Linked DNA regions of Homo sapiens: region 1 is linked to region 2. Evidence: promoter capture Hi-C in 16 types of primary human blood cells and fetal thymus (Javierre and others, 2016). All regions are on one chromosome and are shown on one strand. Each heading gives the region's core, a stretch centred on a gene start or on the middle of the fragment in contact. The rest is flanking DNA. Distances are from core to core; before and after follow the strand shown. Region 1 holds the start of TCF3 (transcription factor 3). Region 2 holds the start of NDUFS7 (NADH:ubiquinone oxidoreductase core subunit S7).

Region 1 (2,700 bases), core at 200-2,699, 270 kb after region 2:
CAGAAAAAGGTACAGAGAAAAATTTCCATTCCAAAGAAATGCACTCCAGGCCCCTCCAGTCTCGACTTTCCCCAGGGGTCCCCAGGTGGGGACGGGGGCAGCCCGGGAGACACCTCCGAGGCTGGGGGTGGGGAGGAGCCTCCGAGGTCGAGGGAGACCCAACTTCAGAAGCAGAGAAATCCCCTCTTTGTCTGCCAACTGGAGGCCGGGTGTGAAGCGGGCGCCCCAGCGCAGCCCCTCCCCCGCTCAGTTTTTTTCTTTTTTGGAGGGCGTGTGAAACTGACTTTTTTTGAGGACTACGAAACCGCACTTTTTTGTGGGGTAGCTGAAACCGATTTTAAGACAGACTTAGTTGGGGGGGTGGCGAGCTAAAACGGGCATTCTACGGGAGCTGGAAGACTTCTGGGGCGTCCCAAGGACTTTGAGAGACTTGGAGAATGTTTGAAGCCACTTTGCACGGCGCCGAAGGCGGGGGGCGCGCTGGAACGCCTTTTTCCCGGGGGGAGGCGGCCCGGGAAGCCGGACCCCCCTCCCCCCGCAGCCGGTGCAGGCGGTGCGGCCCGGGAGCCTTTGAAGCTCGCAGCGCGGCCGCCGCCTCGCCCCGCATTAACGCGGAGCAGATGTTACCCGCGCGCCCCCCCCCGGCCCGCCCGGCCCCGACCAGCGCCTGCAGCGCGCGGCACCTTCCCCGCGCAGACAAAAGGACGTCCCTCCCGCGCGCTCCCCACCCCAAACTCCGGCGCCCGGGCCGGGCCCCCCTCTACCCGAGAAAGGGGGCGCCCCGGGGTCCCCGTGCGCCCGGGCTGGGGGGGACGGTCCTCGCGCCTAAGTTGCACAGCCCGTCCGGCGCCCCCCGCGCCCCCGCCCGGGGCTGCTTAAAGTTTCCCGAAGTGCCCGGCCCGACGGGGGCGACGCGGGCCTGGCGAGCTCCGGGCTCCTCCACGTCGCCGCCCCCCCGGCGCCGCGCGAAGTTGGAGAACAATGACTCCCGGGCCGCGGGGCGCCCCCCGACACCGCCCCCGCCCCAACTTCCTCCGCGCCCCCCCCCAACAAGCGCGCGCGGGGCGGGCCGGGGTTCCCTGGGCACAAAGCACGGGGGTACCGGGCGCGCCCCCCGCCCCCCGCCGGGCTCACCTGCTGGGCGCGGCCGGGCACGCGGCGCGTGGGGGGGGGCGGCGGCATGAAGCGGGGGGGCCCCCCCCCGGACAAAGGTGCGTCGCGGCCGGGCCCCCGAGGGTCGCGCGTGGGCGGCGGCGGCGGCGCGCGTGGCCCGGGCCCCTCCCACCCCCGCGTGGCCCGTCCCGCGGGGCCCGTGCGCGCGGCCGGCCGGGGCGCCCCTGGGGCAGCGGCGTGCGCGGTGCCCGCGGTGCCCGCCGCCGCGTCGGCTCCGGCCCGCTACGCCCGCAGCCGCCGCCGCTGCCTCATCTTCCTGCGGCGGGAGACATGTTCCGCCCCCCGCCCGCGCCGCCCCGCCCCGCCCCGTGCAGGCCCCGCCCCTGCCCCGCCCCCGAGTGCCCCGCCCGGCGGCCCACGCGGATCCCTCCGCCACCTCCGGGCGGCTCGGGCCCGAACGCCCTAGCTCGGCCTCTCGAGCACCCTCGTGAGGACCCCGAATCCCGTGAGGTCCAGAGCCTGGGAGCGGGGACGCGCAGAGGAGGCGGTCGGGCCACGGCGCGGGGAGAAATCACGGACTATCCCCGTCCGCGGAAGCACACACGAGCTGTGCGCTTAGTCCATGACGCAAGCGAGTAAGGCCCGTGAGATTGAAAGCTAAGGCAGAGCAGTCTGGTCAATCGGAAGCCGCGAAAGTCTGATGGGCGGGGATCCTAGCCATTCGTGGTGAGGCCCCGCCTCCTTTCTTCTCGGCCCCGCCCCTCAGCAGAGGCGGGACTCTGCGAGCGAGAGGCCGCGAGAGGCGGCCGGGGTGGGTCCTGGAGTTTTGTTCTCAGGTTGGCGTGGCCGCCCGCGCGGAGCCTTCTGCTTGGTTATATTTGCGTTCCTCGGGCCGGCCCCGCGTGCTGAGTGGTGCGAGCGGGTATCACGGCCCCGAGGGGGCTACGTCAGACCCATTTTCCCGGCGGGAAAACCGACTCTGGCTCCGGCTCTGGGTCAGAGAGCCCCGCGGGGAGTCTCAGCGGTGCCTTTGCCGACTTGAGTCTCCGTCTCGGCATCTGTGAATTTGGACCTGACTTTGGACAGAACTCAGGCCAGATCTGGCTTCCTGATTCTTAGTAGTCCGTGTCTACATTTTAGTAAAAAGTGACCCCGCCTAGGATCGGGCGCCGTGGCTCCTGCCTGTGATCCCAGCGCTTTGAAGGAGGCCGAGGCGGGAAGATCGCTTGAGGCCAGGAGTTCGAGAACAGCCTGAACAACATAGTGAAACCCCCCCCACCCACACCCGTCTCTAAAAATATTTAAAATAATTTAAAATAATAATTTAAAAAGTTGACCGGACGCGGTGGCCCACGCTTGTATTCCCAGCACTTTGGGAGGCCAAGGCGGGCAGATCACCTGAAGTCAGGAGTTCGAGACCTCTCTGGCCAACACGGTGAAACCCCATCTCTACTAAAAATACAAAAATTAGCCGGGCATGGTGGCGGGCACCTGTAGTCCTAGCTACTCGGGAGGCTGAGGCAGCAGAATCGCTTTCACCCGAAAGGCGGAGGTTGCAATGAGCCGAGAGCACGCCATTGTACTCCA
Region 2 (2,700 bases), core at 16-2,515:
ACCTAATTTGAGCCTCTGTTTTCTTTACTTTTTCTTTTTCTTTTTTCTTTTTTTTTTTTTTTTGAGATGGAGTCTCACTCTGTCGCCCAGGCTGGAGTGCGGTGGCACGATCTCAGCTCATTGCAACCTCCGCTTCCCGGATTCAAGTGATTCTCTTGCCTCAGCCTCCCGAGTAGCTGGGATTTAGATACAGGGTTTCACCATATTGGCCAGGTTGGTTTTGAACTCCTGACCTCAGGTGATTTGCCTGCCTCAGCCTCCCAAAGTGCTGGGATTACAGGCGTGAACCACCGCACCGGCCTTTGCCTCTGTTTTTGTAATCATAAAACAGGCAGACAAAACCTCCAGTGGAATTGTGAAAATTAAATGATATGCATGCAGAAAGCGTTCTGCAAACTCTGTTTTGCTAGTTTGGGTGTTTAGTGTTAGTTTTTATATCATTAGTACTGGTTGTAAACTTATCAATTTAAGCAAGATGGAAAATCGAGGGTGTGTCAGGGAAGGGGGAAGTTTGAGCTGAAATTATGACCTCTTAGGGGTGGGAAGAGGAGGCTTTGGGGTTGTGAGGTCTGAGCCCCCTTACTTTGGGATGAGTCCACATCGCGGCGACTCCTCTGCAGAATGCGGTGATGTTGCGGTAAGGGGTCCGGGATAGCTGCGAGGCAGCTGGACCAATCCTGAACGAAAGACATCAGTGATCGCAAGAGGCGCTAAAACTTCTGCCGAAACCCGGGATCGAACCAGGGACCTTTAGATCTTCAGTCTAACGCTCTCCCAACTGAGCTATTTCGGCTGGGCGGCAGAGTCGCTCTCGCCGGGACTCCGTCCCGCGCTGCGCCTTCCCTGCGCAGGCGCAGTCGTTTCGCGTCAGCAGGCCCCACATCCTTTGTAAGGTCTCCCAGGGCGCCGGAGCGCAGTGTCGTCTCTGTGGCGCAATCGGTTAGCGCGTTCGGCTGTTAACCGAAAGGTTGGTGGTTCGAGCCCACCCAGGGACGCGTGGTGACTTTTGCCCTCCTGGAATAACAAGAAAATGAGTGTCGCCTCTGTTTTTGTCGGTCCGCCGCAGACCCGCGGCCCCCACGTGCGCACTCCGATGACCTTTCCGCCTCGGGTGATCTGGGGGTGCACGGCGCAACACGACCACGGAGGCCGAAAGCGCAGCGGAACCTCCCGGCTCCAGGTTCCGGTTTCCGCATGCGCTCCGAGCCGCTTTGGGCGGCGGCCCCGGGAACCCGGAGCGCTAAGGAGAACGGACCTCAGAGGTTGTCTGAAGGCCGAGGCCAAGATGGCGGTGCTGTCAGGTGAGCGCGGCACCGGCGGCGGGTGTGGGGCCGCGCGGGTCTGGGGCCGTGGGAGCCTCGGGTGTCGTGGTGGCGTCGGGGGTCGGTGCCGGCGTCGTGGCCGCGGTCCTCTCCGGGCTTCTCCGAGCCGGCCGCTCCTCGGGCTCCCCGCCCGGCTTGCGATGAACGGTCGCCGTTATTGCGTCCAGAGTACAGTCGGGGAAACCGAGGCCCGGTAGGTCATGACGCAAGCCTCCAGCCTCAGGAAGGCGCTCGGGGTGGAGGCTGGAGGGGCCCCATTCACGTCCCCGAGACCAGGGCACGGCCCGCGAGGCTGCTCTTGAGATGCCCTGGAGAGAGCGGGGCCTGCCTGACAGGCTGGGAAACTGAGGCCCATTGAGGGTCTTCGAGGTCACAGGGCCGGGCCTGGGAAGGAACAGGACCCAGGACATCCACGCCACCCTGCTGGACCCTCCACCTCCCTCCCCACCCCTGGGAGGTAAGGGCCTCTCGCAGAGCCTGTCCTGCTCCAGGGACTTTTTTGGGATCAGCTGAAGCCTGCGGACCTCTGCTCAGATAAAGTTATTAAATGCATGGAATAAAATCCATAGAATTGCAAGGAAATCAGTTACACGGAGAGGCAGTTATTAAAAGATTGTCTTGAAACCTGATTGGCGACTTAGTAATCTAAGTGCTTCCCTTATGAACGCGATCTAGCGGCAGGTCTAATTGCGACTGTGATTTGGAAGGAGTGAGGAGTGGAAATGAGGCTTTGATGATACGGAAACGTCTGCAGCCCCTGCACCATAGCTAGGAAACATCTGTGATTCCGCTTGGTGAAAAGTTACAGGTCCTGCTAATACTGCCGTATTTTGTTGTCTATGCTAAGAATTTTTTATTTATTTATTAAGACAGGGTCTGCCTCTGTCGCTCAGACTGGAGTGCAGTGGTGCCATCTTGGCTCATCACTGCAACCTGTGCCTCCCAGGCTCAAGCGATTCTGGCACTTCAGTGTCCTGTGTAGCTGGGACCACAGGTGTGCGCCACCATGCCTGGCTAGTTTTTGTATTTTTAGTAGAGATGGGGGTCTTGCCCTGTTGCCCAGGCTGGTCTCGAACTTCTGAGTTCAAGCAATCCTCCCACCTGAGCCTCCCAAAGTGCTGGGAGCCACGGCACCCAGCCTACGCTAAGAATTGAATGAAGGGCTAATTTTCCATAAGATGCTGGTGACAACAAAGACATATATATTTTTTTATTCCAAGCAAATTCACAGTTCTGAATCCTCACCAGGCCCCTTGTTAAGAATGCCTGGCCCACGCGCGGTGGCTCACGCCTGTAATCCCAGCACTTTGGAAGGCCAAGGTGGGCGGATCACCTGAGGTCCGGAGTTCGAGACCAGCCTGGCCAACATGGAGAAACC

The links. Contacts are between HindIII fragments. The CHiCAGO score rates a contact against its expected background, and 5 or more counts as called.
Region 1: a contact is called between the fragment with the promoter of TCF3 here and the fragment with the promoter of NDUFS7 in region 2, in 5 of 17 cell types (neutrophils, erythroblasts, M0 macrophages and 2 more). The highest score is 5.5, in neutrophils.

Annotation. Positions count from the first base shown.
Region 1 is chr19:1,651,166-1,653,865 of GRCh38, forward strand. It overlaps TCF3 (transcription factor 3), which reads right to left and starts at 1,450. Exons shown (of 19, transcript NM_003200.5): 1 at 1,135-1,450. RefSeq lists silencers at 369-488, 469-691, 499-728, 819-898, 1,429-1,558 and 1 more and enhancers at 1,909-1,958, 2,079-2,188. The HindIII fragment of the contact is 10,400 bases long and covers 1-2,700 here.
Region 2 is chr19:1,382,642-1,385,341 of GRCh38, forward strand. It overlaps NDUFS7 (NADH:ubiquinone oxidoreductase core subunit S7), which reads left to right and starts at 1,266. Exons shown (of 8, transcript NM_024407.5): 1 at 1,266-1,301. The coding sequence starts at 1,286. TRF-GAA1-6 (tRNA-Phe (anticodon GAA) 1-6) reads right to left here and starts at 793; the gene lies at 721-793. It overlaps TRN-GTT2-6 (tRNA-Asn (anticodon GTT) 2-6), which reads left to right and starts at 922; the gene lies at 922-995. RefSeq lists silencers at 636-765, 946-1,085, 1,336-1,395. The HindIII fragment of the contact is 18,765 bases long and covers 1-2,700 here.